Regions from separate parts of the Homo sapiens genome. Here region 2 is linked to region 1. The links are contacts of gene promoters, found by promoter capture Hi-C in human tissues and cell types (Jung and others, 2019). All regions are on one chromosome and are shown on one strand. The core of a region is centred on a gene start or on the middle of the fragment in contact, and the rest is flanking DNA. Distances in the headings are between cores, read along the strand shown.

What was found. The method cuts DNA at HindIII sites, captures the fragments that hold promoters and counts their contacts. A contact is called where the count stands out against the background at its distance.
Region 2: a contact is called between a fragment that was not itself captured here and the fragment with the promoter of DVL3 in region 1, in 1 of the 25 tissues and cell types used here (aorta).

Annotation. Positions count from the first base shown.
Region 1 is chr3:184,151,761-184,158,041 of GRCh38, reverse strand. It overlaps DVL3 (dishevelled segment polarity protein 3), which reads right to left and starts at 2,665. Exons shown (of 15, transcript NM_004423.4): 1 at 2,246-2,665. The coding sequence starts at 2,406. RefSeq lists enhancers at 328-1,203, 1,204-2,081 and a silencer at 2,419-2,768. The HindIII fragment of the contact is 10,362 bases long and covers 1-6,281 here.
Region 2 is chr3:183,866,036-183,872,598 of GRCh38, reverse strand. It overlaps PARL (presenilin associated rhomboid like), which reads left to right. Exons shown (of 10, transcript NM_018622.7): 2 at 4,539-4,734; 3 at 5,834-5,974. Among named protein-coding and RNA genes, the nearest start is that of PARL, 16 kb to the left of the region's middle. The HindIII fragment of the contact is 7,346 bases long and covers 1-6,563 here.

The DNA of each region.
Region 1 (6,281 bases), core at 1,416-3,915:
GTAAACTAGAGATACTATTACGCTATCTATTTCATAAGGCTGTTTCGAAGATTAAATGAGTGAAGATTTGAAAAGCATTTAGATTAGTCCCTGGCACACTAAGCATAAAAGGCGTGTGTTAAATAAATGAAACATATATATATGCTCTTCAGCTATTAGTCCTCTGTGACAAGACAGCTCTATCAGTTCCCCTGCTCATTTATCCTTCTGGGGATACAAACAGAATCCATCTCCTCCACTTCATTTTTAATACTGTTTTCAACCCTGCTAAAATGGTCCAACTCTGATTTTGGTTCAAGTACCACTGATGTTTGCAAGATGGCTTCAGGTGGCACACAGATTAACATTGCTTAGTTCAATCATTAAATATTTATGTTAAACATATTTTAGAAAGAAATATAAACAGAAAAGTCAGACCTATGGTTTCATATTATTGCTTGGTTCAAGCTAAGAAAAACAGTAAGTGGACTGACAATGGATTTAAAGAAAAATATTAAGTAACAGTGACTGGATGTAATGGGGGCCCTCTTAAAACTGCAGTTAGGCCTTGGGATTGGGAGAGCAGCCCAGAGTTGTCCAGGCTTAGGAGGCAGGGGCCAGGTCCAGTGGGTCTGGAGATAAGTACAGGGTGGAGAGACAGCCTATCTTAGTCCCTCAAGGCATCTGGATCTGAGGTGGCCCCAGGGCACTGGACTCTGGCTCATCTTCCCCCATTCCTTATGTGGAGGCAGTAGCTTGATCCCTTCTAACCCTATTCTTCTCTTGCCAGGCCAAAGTATCCACCCCCTCACCCAGACCCCTTCTAGATCCATCCCTCCTCAGAATCTTCCAATTAGAGGTGTCTGTCTCTGGGCTGAAGGCAGACAATCATTATCACACCAGGAGCACCCCACCCCAGGGCAGGAACAACAACAGAAACAAGAATAGTTAGAATCTACAAAGCACTGCCCACTGTACAAAGCACTCTCACACACATGATTTCAGGGGCTCATCCAACCCTGAGTTCCAGGGCAGAAGGTGACAGCAAAACATGCCAGGCATTAGACAGAAGGTGCTTGCTTCCTAGTGCTAGGTGGGCCAGGGGCTTGGGAGAGAAGCCAGACAGATGAACACTGGGGAGAAGAATGTCTCCTCTTGGCTGTGGGGCCTCAGCTCCAAAGAGCAGTGCAGGCCTCAGGCTAGGGCTGGAGAGGCAGCCTTCAGGCCTGGAGGGGCCTTCCCCACCGCCTCCAGGCCCAGCGCCCAGTTAGTGAGGCGGCAGGCAAGTGTGGGCGCCTCCCCCTCCCCCAGTCTCCTGGGAGTTGGGGGGGTTCGAGGGGGATCAGCCAGGCCCCCCTCTTCCCAGGCCAGCTGCTTCAGAACCTTCCGGCTCCAACATTCCATCCCCTCTTAAAGGGAAAGTGACTGCTTCCAAACTGTGCCTGTCCAGATCTCTGCAGCTGGGTGGAAGGGAAGACCCCACCAGGGAGGGGAAGATAGAGAACACCAAGAAACTCTTCCTGGCTATCCCACCCAGGCCCCAGGCCCTTCCTAACGTCTCTCCACTGGCCACCAACTGGAGGAAAAAAGCCCGAATTGGAGGAAAGATCAGCACCTGGGTCAGTGAGGACTACTCCGCAGGGGTCAGGCTCTCTGTTCCGGTGACAACACCCACAACAGCCCACAAAGGAGAGGGCAGGCAGCTAGATAAACATCAGATCTGCAGACCCCGCTCGCGGCCAGGCGCCCGAGCACCCCCGACACCCCTCCCCCAGCTCAAAGTCCCAGCAGAGCCCTCAGATGCAGCATACTCCAAATATGGCTGGGAGCTGTGCTGCTGAAAAGATGAAGGGGGCGAAGAACGAGGGCCACACGACCCAAGTCTGTGCGGAAAAAGGTGGCTCTGGCTCCTCGGCAGGAGGAGGATGGGGGACTCGGGCTCTGAAACTAGGTGGAGGGGGGGTGTGTCTGTCTCTGTGGGCCACTGGTCTCTGAAGAGGTAAGGGGACCGCACCGGCAGGAACTCTGATTGCTAGTGGGGAATTGGACGTCCCCTTAAACAAGGGAGGCCAACGTCCCCTCTTCAGAGGTAAACGGGAGTTGCTACTGGGGCTGGAACCAAAGGGGCCCAAATGGGCCGAGTCGCCCCTAGAAGTCAGAGCGGGGCTAGGAGCCGGTGTAGCGAGGCAAGTCGAAACGGACCGCGTCATCCCTTAGAAGCCAGAGCGGCCGGGGCTCCCGGAGGCGGGGCGGGGGCCATCCTCACCCGAAATCGTCGTCCATAGACTTGAAGAAGAACTTATAGCTGGGTCGCTGCAAAACGCCCTTAAAGTCCGCCAAGGTGACGCGCTCGGCGGGCAGGGGCAGCTTCACAAGGTACGGCGTCTCCTGCCCATCCAAGTGGTAGATGATCTTGGTCTCGCCCATGGCTCTGGCCTCGGGCCCGGCGGCCCGCGCGCGGCCTGCTCGGGCGGCCGGGCCGAGCCTCCCAGACGGCGGCGGCGCGCGGCGCGGCCCAGCGGCTCAACCCAGCTCGGCGGCTGCTGGCGGCGCCAGCTCCCTTGTTCTCCGGCCGCTACCGGGTCCCAGCGCCGCCCGCCGCCGCCGCGGCCGCCGCTTCCGCTCCCCACTCTCCCGACTGGACTGGCGACCGCGACTCTTCCGGTGGCCGCGGCCCTCCCGGCCCAGGGCTTCGTCCGGGCCCGCTCCCCTCCTCCGGCCCGGCGCGGCCCCGCCCCGGCGCGCCCCGCCCCCGGCCGCCGCGGAGAGGCGCCGGCGTCGCGGCAGATGGCAGGGTTTCCCGCCCACTGGCCGGGCCGCGGCGCTCCGGTCCCGGGTCCCTAGAAACGGAAGGGGAGATTCACCGGGATGGCGGCGTTCCCGGACCCCTGAAGGCCCTGACTCCGGACCCAAGTGGGATCGGCGACTCCTCTGCAGTCCAGGAAGAGTGGAATGCAGGGATTGCTTTGGTCCCCAGAAATGGTCTGGGGAAAGAGGGTGGGTCTGACTCTGGATCCCTGGAGGAGAATGACCTCAACATGGCCCTTCAGTGTTTCTTGAGAAGCACAACTGCTGTCACTGAGTCTACTAAACTGATCTCGAGAGAAGGACAGCATCCAGTTCTGATTCCTCCCTATAACCTTAGCGTCCAGTTGCAAGGTAGTGGTTTAATAAATGGGTTGAATGCGGAATAAGTGGGGCCCGGGCGCGGTGGCTCACGCTTCTAATCCCAGCACTTTGGGAGGCCAAGGCGGGCGGATCGCCCGAGGTCGAGAGTTCAAGACCAGCCTGACCAACATGGAGAAACCCTGTCTCTACTAAAAATACAAAAAAATTAGCCGGGCGTGGTGGCGCATGCATGTAATCTCAGCTACTCGGGAGGCTGAGGCAGAAGAATCGCTTGAACACGGGCGGCGGAGGTTGCGGTGAGCCGAGATCGGTGAGTCGAGATCCTGCCTTTGCACTCCAGCCTGGGCAACAAAAGTGAAACTCCATCCCCCCTCGCCCCCCCCCAAAAAAAAAGATAAGTGGATGCATGCATGCCTAAGACAGTAAGTCTCAAACCAGAACTCCAGAACTAGGTATAGCCGGTTCCTCACAGATCTCCTCACCCCTTAACTTTTAATTCATTTAATAAATACTGAAGGCCTACTGTGTATAAGGCATATCGCATGAGATATAGCGATAGCGAGACAGACAAGGCTGCTCTCAGGACCTTCCCTCAGCTGGAGGGAAGCACATAGGCTTGTAAATACATAACTTCAGAGTGACCACTGCTATGAAGAAGGTAAAACAAAGTGATGGGATAGTGACAGGGGAAGCCAGGCGCAATGGCTCATGCCTGTAATTCCAACATTTTGGGAGGCTGAGGCAGGTGGATCACCTGAGGTTAGGAGTTCGAGACCAGCCTGGCCAAAATGGTGAAACCCCGTCTCTAGTAAAAATACAAAAATTAGCTGGACATGGTGGCGCATGCCTGTAGTCCCAGCTACTCGGGAGGCTGAGGCAGGAGAATCGCTTGAACCCGGGAGGTGGAGCTTGCAGTGAGCCGAGATCCCACCACTGCACTCCAGCCTGGGCGACAGAGCGAGACTCCGCCTCAAACAAAAACAAAAACAAAACAACCAAAACAAAACGAGAAAGAGGTTTCTGATTGGTTAGAGAAAACTTCTTCCAGAAAAAAAGACCTAGAAATAGCAAGGATGAAGTGGCTATGAGAAGATCTGGGGTGACAGCCTTCTAGGCAGAGGGCACAGCCAATATACAGGCTCAAGGCAGGAATAAACATGTTACATTTGAGGAATAAGAAGGCCATCATGACTAAAGGAACAGTCCTAGGTGAGGCTGGAAACATAGACCCGCCAGATTACATAGGGCCTTGGATGCTATGGTCTTAAGTATGGGCTCCTTCTACTCCATTTTATACACTGTTGCCAAATTAACACTAGAATAACAACATCATTCAGATACCTCTTCTACTCAGAAACCTTTCCACATTCCCCAAAGCCCCCAAATATCCCTATTCAAGGCCCCCCATAATCTAACCTCTACCTACTTTTACAGCCTTTTGTCTCATATCCTGGCCAAATTTTTGACTCCAGGAAAATGAACCCACTTGCTAGCCCCTGCACACACCTTATGTATATCGTCACTTCATACCCTTTCCTTCACCTTCTTTACATTTTTTATCAAAGTAATATGTTTGGAAGTCAAATAGTATTTAAACAGCTTTTTTTTTTTTTTTTTTTTTTTTTTTTTGAGATGGAGTCTCACTCTGTCGCCCAGGGTGGAGTGCAGTGGCACAATCTCGGCTCACTGCAAGCTCCGCCTCTTGAGTTCACGCCAGCCTCCCGAGCAGCTGGGACCACAGGCGCCCGCCAAATTTTTTGTGTTTTTTTTAGTAGAGACGGGGTTTCACTGTGTTAAACAGGATGGTCTTGATCTGAACTCGTGATCCACCTGCCTCGGCCTCCCAAAGTGCTGGGACTACAGGCGCAAGCCACCACGCCCGGCTTTTTTTTTTTTTTTTTTTTTTTTTTTTTTTTTTTGAGATGGAGTGTTGCTCTGTCGCCCAGGCTGGAGTGCAGTGGCACGATCTTGGCTCACTGTGAACTCCGCCTCCCGGGTTCATGCCATTCTCCTGCCTCAGCCTCCCGAGTAGCTGGGACTACAGGTGCCTGCCACCACACCTGGCTAATTTTTTACATTTGTAGTAGAGATGGGGTTTCACCGTGTTAGCCAGGATGGTCTCGATCTCCTGATCTCGTGATCTGCCTGCCTCGGCCTCCCAAAGTGCTGGGATTACAGGTGTGAGCCACCGTGCCTGGCCCTTAAAAAGCTTTTTAACAAAACAGCAGTCCTCCTTATTGGTATAGTGGTGAGAAAAACAAAACAAAAAACCCGAGCAATTCTTTGTCCTATTTCCCTACCACTCTTAGTACTTTTTTTTAGCTCATAATACTTGTTCTTGATTTATACATTTTAGACATTGCTTATTGATTTCCAAATTTGATTGATGATTCTCTGTCTTCCACCTTACCCTTCCCTCTTAAAATAGTGAAAGCACACTTTTTGGCTAAGTCAATATAGTACTTAGTAGTGACCTTATTTTGACTATGAGCAAATGTTCACCGCTAAGTCATGTGGAGTTTTTTTTGTTTTGTTTTTGTTTTTGTTTTTGATGGAGTCTCACTCTGTCGCCAGGCTGGAGTGCAGTGATGTGATCTCAGCTCATTGCAACCTCCACCTCCCGGGTTCAAGCGATAATTCTGCCTCAGCCTCCGAGTAGCTGGGATTACAGGCATGTGCCACCATACCTGCCCAACTCATTTTTGTATTTTTAGTAGAGACAGGGTTTTACCATGTTGGCCAGGATGGTCTCAATCTCTTGACCTCGTGATCCACCTGCCTTGGCCTCCCAAAGTGCTGTGATTACAGGCATGAGCCACCGCGCTGGCCTCATGTGTGTTTTATAATCGTTTCCTTTACAACTTTTTTGTTTCCTCTGACTTTAATCATTGCCTTGTGTTTTCATTTGTTTTAATATATTATACCTATCATTAGTTTTTCCCATGTAATCTAATAGTTTCTCAATACACATTTTGTTCATTCAGTCAAAGCTATTAGATAATCCATCAGTTCAATTTTTCCCTGGAGGCTTCCATCTTTTTTTTTTTTTTTTTTTAGATGGAGTCTCACTCTGTCGCCCAGGCTGGAGTGCAGTGGCGAGATTCCGGCTCACTGCAACCTCTGCCTCCCAGGTTCAAGTGATTCTCCTGCCTCAGCCTCCCAAGTAGCTGGGA
Region 2 (6,563 bases), core at 2,106-4,605, 290 kb after region 1:
CAACAGGGTTTGCTAAAGGATATTCGTTATAAGACTGGTAACAGGCTCTGAAGGGAGTTAAGAGCCATTTAGAGCAACAGTACCATTGGTTGCATAAGTTTATAACTTTCCAAAATAGATGAACTTACTCAAACCTTTTCTGCTTTTTCTGTAATAGATTTCTTTGAAAGGAATATCACTTATTTGGAAGTATAAATTCTGAAATTAAAATCTCAAGTCAAATTATAATCACTTTCCTCACTGTGATTTCTGAGTTGAATTGAGTGGACTCAGTGTTGAAGAGAAAGGGCATTCTTAGGCCAGGCATGGTGGCACATGCCTGTAATCCCAGCACTTTGGGAGGCCGAGGCGGGTGGATCATCTGAGGTCAGGAGTTCGCGACCAGCCTGAATAACGTGGTAAAACCTCGTCTCTACTAAATACAAAAAAATTAGCCAGGTGTGGCAGTACATGCCTGTAATCCGAGCTACTTGGGAGGCTGAGACAGGAGAATCGCTCGTACCTGGGAAGTGGAGGTTGCAGTGAGCTGAGATCACGCCATTGCATGCCAGCCTGGGCAACAAGAGCGAAACTCCATCTCAAAAAAAAAAAAAAAAAATGCATTCTAGGCAAGTAATAGTAGTAGTAGCTATGCTATTATTCTGAGTTTCATTTATTTCCAAAATGCCTATTAAGATACCTCCACCTGGATGTCCTATGAGCATTCTTTTAAATACTTTATTGAGATACAGTTTACATATAGTAAAATGTATAAGTATTAAATATACAGCCAGTGCATTCTGATTAATGTATACACCTGTGTGACTATCACCTAAATCAAGATAAAGATGGCCGTCATCCCAGCAAGTTTCCTCTTGCTCCTTTCCTGTCAAGCCCCACCCATTCCAGGCAATCGCTCATCTAATATTTATCACTACAGGTTAGTGTGTCTGTCAACTTCTTAGCAATGGAAGTCACAGAATCACATATCATGTACTCTTTTGTATTTTACTTCTTTTGCCAAAAGTGTTTTTGAGAGTTATCCATGATGTATGATTAGTTCTTCCCCACCCCTCCCCCCCAAGCCTTTTTTTTTTTTTTTGGCCAAGTGTAATATTCCATTATATGAATATACCACAGAATTTCTCCTGTTAATGGAAATTTAAGTTTCAGTTTTTAGCTAGAGGAATGAAGCTGCCATGACTGCAAGCATTTTAAACAGCACCCCAGCTGGAATTGTTCGTCTCTTATCTCCCAGTTGCCTATTTTGAGGCTTCCAATTTTCCTTATCTTATTGAATAGTACCACCTTACTTTGAATATAGTACCACCTTACTTTGAGTATAGTACCACCTTGAGTATAGTACCACCTTACTTTGAGAATAGTACCACCTTACTTTCAGTATAGTACTACCTTACTTTGAGTATAGTACCACCTTACTTTGAGTATAGTACCATCTTACTTTGAGTTACTCACAATAAAGCTTAATCATTTTTTGATCCCTTTTTTATTCTGACAGATAATTATTGACCTTTTATTAGGGACTAGACTTGGTGATAGAGATATAATGAATATAAAACTGTAATCTAATGGGGGCGTGGGCAGTAGTGGAGATAAGTATTAAAAAAACTGCTTTGGAACTCTAGAAGTGCAAAGGAGAGAAGTACCCAGCCTGGGGCAGCTAGGGAAGACTTCCTGGAGGAGGAGATATATTAACTGAAATCTGAAGGGCCCAAAAAAGTTAAAGGGAAGTATATACCAAAATATGAGTAGCATTGTCGTAGTTAAGAGAGCAAAACAGATCATAGGAACTGCAAGAAAGTCAGTATAACAGGTATAGAGAGGATTTGAGGTGGCAGAGGGAGGAAGTGGCAAGAGAGAGGAAGGGGTCGGATTGAAGGGATGTGTGCTGAGTTTGATGGGGTGATGAAAAGTTATTGTGGGGTTTAAAGCAAGGGAACATTACATTTGTGCTTAATACAATGTGAAGGATGCACTTGGAGTGGGGCAGTACTGGAAGCAAGGAGATCTGCTAGGAAATGGTGGCGTATTCCAGGCCAGAAGGGATGAGCTAAGGAGTTGCATTAGAATTAGGAAGAGATTTTTGGCCCTCTGAGAGGACATTTGAGAAACTATAGAATGTGGAGGAAAAGCAGTGTGAGGCCAGAAGAACATGCAACAGGTTAAAGTGTTTGAAGTTAAGGAAAGTGTTGCCATGATCCAGGTATGAGATAAAGGACTAGACTAGGAATTTTAAAAGTATTTTTGATAGAGTTGGCTTTTAATTGAATAAGAATAAAGGAAAGATAACTCCAAAATGACTTCTAGATTTTTTTTTTTTTGAGACAAGGTCTTACTCTGTCACCTATGCTGGAGTGCAGTGGTGTGATCTTGGCTCACTGCAACCTCTGCCTCCCAGGTTCACGCGATTCTTCTGCCTCAGCCTCCCGAGTAGCTGGGACTCTACAGGTGTGCACCACCACACCTGGCTAATTTTTGTATTTTTAGTGGAGACGAGGTTTCACCATATTGGCCAGGCTGGTCTCAAACTCCTGACCTCGTGATCCACCTGCCTCAGCCTCCCAAAGTGCTGGGATTACAGGCGTGAGCCACTGTGCCCGGCCCCCAGCCTAGATTTTTAACCTCAGTAACTGAGAGAACTGTGGTCTTATTGAAAGAGTACGTCAGAAAATGGAGGTGTTTGTAGAGGAGAATGAGTTAATTCTATTTTGAATATATTGGTTTTAAAGTAATGGGGAGCATATCCAAGTAGCATTATTCAGTATAGAGTTGGAAATACTGGAGTAGAAAGTTCAGGTTAGGACTAAAATAAATTTGAATCATTTACATGCTTAGAAGTCATTCAGGTCACAAAAATTCAACCAAATAGCTTGTTTTAGGGGCTGGGATACAAAGACAAAAGACCTACCCGAGCTCTGCTTTTGAGGAGCTTTGAGGCTAGTAGAAGGGATAATATGTTATGATATTCCTCACTGAATATTGTTCGTTATATATATAATATCTTTGAACATACTATCCCTTCTAGAAGGGATATCATAATATCCCTTAATAATAATAATATACATTATTATCCCTTATAATAATAAGGTATAGCCAGGCGCAGTGGCTCATGCCTGTAATCCTAGCACTTTGGGAGGCCAATGCGGGTGGATCACCTGAGGTCAGGAGTTCGAGACCAGCCTGACCAACATGGTGAAACCCCATATCTACTAAAAATACAAAAATTAGCCAGGTGTGGTGGTGGGTGCCTATAATCCCAGCTACTAGGGATGCTGAGGCAGGAGAATCACTTGCATCTGGGGAGGCAGAGGTTGCAGTGAGCCAAGATTATGTCATTGTACTCCAGCCTGGGTGGCAGAATAAGACTCTGTCTCAGAATAATTATAAGAAGGGATAATATGTTCAGGGTACAAACAGAAAGGGATCTTTACTTTGTGACCTGGGAAAGTTACAGTTTTACAAAAGAAAAAGAAGACTGTTTCAAGAATTTATATGGGTTGAGTTTGAATGGGGTAGAGGAAAAGGGGAAGATACCGGGAGTTAAAGATGAATTTGAAGAGTAGGAAGTGCTGTTACAGAAGCTAGGACTAGGAGGCATGATCAGTAGTGTTAGATATTTTGAGGAAGTCAAGCTGTAGACTCAAACAACAAAATTTTTTTTTAACTGTTGGGGTAACAGCTCACAAATAATTTGGTGGATGTCCCCAAAACAGTGAAATAAAGGGGAGAGGTGAGAGGAGTGTTTTAATTTATAATGGGCAATACTTAGAAAAGAAAATAATTATTGAATTTGGAGTGGCTTCAAGGACAATACATTTAAATATTTGTTCCAGAAATTGACCAAACTTTAAACAAAAAACCAGAAGTCATTCTGACTGAAACTGACAACTGGTGGGGCACCATGGCTCATGCCTGTAGTCCTAGCACCTTGGGAAGCCATGGCAGGAGGATTGTGTGAGCCCAAGTGTTTGAGACTAGCTTGGGCAACATGGCAGAACCCCATCTCTACAAAAGGTACAAAAATTAACAATGTGGTAGCCTACGCTTGTAGTCCCAGCTACTTGGGAGGCTGAGGCAGGAGGATCGCTTGAGCCTGAGACGTGGAGGCTGCAGTGAGCCATGATCGTACCACTGAGCGACAGAGGGAGGGAGTAATCGTACTCTAGCCTGGGCGACGGAGGGAGACCCTGTCTCAAAAAAAAAAAAAGAAACGGACAATTTATAGAGTTCTCTAGCTTTTTACCAGGTCTTCAGATTCTTTCTGTGTGGAGAATGGATACAAATTATTTTGTTGACTGATAGAAAGTAATAGCCCAAAGTAGTATCCTCTGAAGTTGCTGTAGTTTGTGTGTCACCTTTTCCAGAAAGGTTGAATTTTGTGGCTTTGAATTCTGTCTGAGAGTAGGAGTCTTGGCTGTTTTTGGACTGTAGAGTGAGAATAAATTGAGATGGTGATGATGCAGGCCAAGTGGAGGTTCATAGAAGTTGATATTTGCAAGACGCTACTGTGTTTCTCATCTGTTATTTTTGCCCCATAGGTTTAACTTCTTTATTCAACAAAAATGCGGATTCAGAAAAGCACCCAGGAAGGTTGAACCTCGAAGATCAGACCCAGGGACAAGTGGTGAAGCATACAAGAGAAGTGCTTTGATTCCTCCTGTGGAAGAAACAGTCTTTTATCCTTCTCCCTATCCTATAAGGAGTCTCATAAAACCTTTATTTTTTACTGTTGGGGTAAGAGCTCACTTTGCTAGGAGTTACCTACCTTGCTAGAAATGCAGTGTTAAAGTACTTTGTCCCATTTGGGCTCCCTTAAAGTAAGGACAGGTAGAGGGGGGATCAAAAAGAGCTGGGCTCATGAATTCTAATTATAGAGTCTGAATTTTTTTTTTTTTTTTTGAGACGGAGTCTCACTCTGTCGCCCAGGTTGGAGTGCAGTGGCGCGATCTCGGCTCACTGCAAGCTCCACCTCCTGGGTTCACACCATTCTCCTGCCTCAGCTTCCCAAGTAGCTGGGACTGTAGGCACTGGCCACCACGCCTGGCTAATTTTTTGTATTTTTAGTAGAGACGGGGTTTCACCTTGTTAGCCAGGATGGTCTCGATCTCCTGACCTCATGATCCGCCCGCCTTGGCCTCCCAAAGTTCTGGGATTACAGGAGTGAGCCACTGCGCCCGGCCTAGAGTCTGAACTTAAAAATTGCTTTTATTATTAAATTCTGGCTTACTTATGTAAGCCCTAGAGAATAAACATATGGGCCTTGTTTGGTACAGCATTTCAAGCGGTGCTAAGTTGGTATTTTCAGTTTTATTTGAGGATTTATAGCTGGAAACAGGCCCCAGGGTATTGTGAAGTTAATACAATGGGAAACAATAAAATGTCCTTTTTGGCCAGGCACAGTGGCTCATGCCTGTAATCCCAGCACTGGAGGCCAAGGTGGGTGGATCACCTGAGGTCAGGAGTTCGAGACCCCTCTGGCCAACATGATGAAACCCCGTCTCTACTAAAAATACAAAAATTAGCCGGGCCTGGAGGCAGGTACCTGTAATCCTAGCTACTCCAGAGGCTGAGACAGGAGAATCACTTGAACCTGGCAGGCAGAGGTTGCAGTGAGCCCATATCGCACCATTACAGTCTGGCCTGGGAGACAAGAGTGAAACTCCATCTCAAAAAGAAAAAAAAAAGCCCTTTTCACTTATTAGGTTTCACTGTGCCAAGTATTCCCTTCTGTTGGTTTGTAAAAAGCAATGACAGTGAAGAATTCTCCTTGGAAATAATGTATAGATCTATTTCCCTCTTAAATCTATTTTGTAATATATCTAATTTTATATAGTTTACAGGCTGTGCATTTGGATCAGCTGCTATTTGGCAATATGAATCACTGAAATCCAGGGTCCAGAGTTATTTTGATGGTATAAAAGCTGATTGGTTGGATAGCATAAGACCACAAAAAGAAGGAGACTTCAGAAAGGAGGTAAAGATAAACACTGCTTTCTTTCTTCTAGTTAATCACGGTTTTAAAAAACTGATACTTAATAGATGCACGTGTTTTCAGTGTACATGATGCATTCACATAATGTGTAATAATGAAATCTGAGGAACTGAATATCTATCACCTTAAACATTTATCTTTATGCTAGGTATATTTGAATTGTTCTCCACTAGCTATTTTGAAATGTACTATAGATTATAGTTGACTGTAGTTACTCTACTGGTAATCCCAGGTTTTGAAGCCTGGTTATTTATGAAGTGCTTTTAGTTAATGGCAACATCAGATTAATAGATGTCAAGTCAGTGCACTTAATATTCTTCACAGTAAGTATTGATTACTGTTTTATATATCTGGTGTTGTACTTAACAGTGTTCCAGAATTCTGTCCCTCTACCCACATGCATCAAAAATCACCACGGATAGTTGTTAAAAATGTTAACGTTGGCCGGGCACAGCGGCTCAAGTCTATAATCCTAGCACTTTGGGAGGCCAAGGCAGTCAGGAGCTGGAGACCAGCCTGGCCAACATAGTGAAATCCCATCTCTACTGAAAATACAAAAATTAGCCAGGCG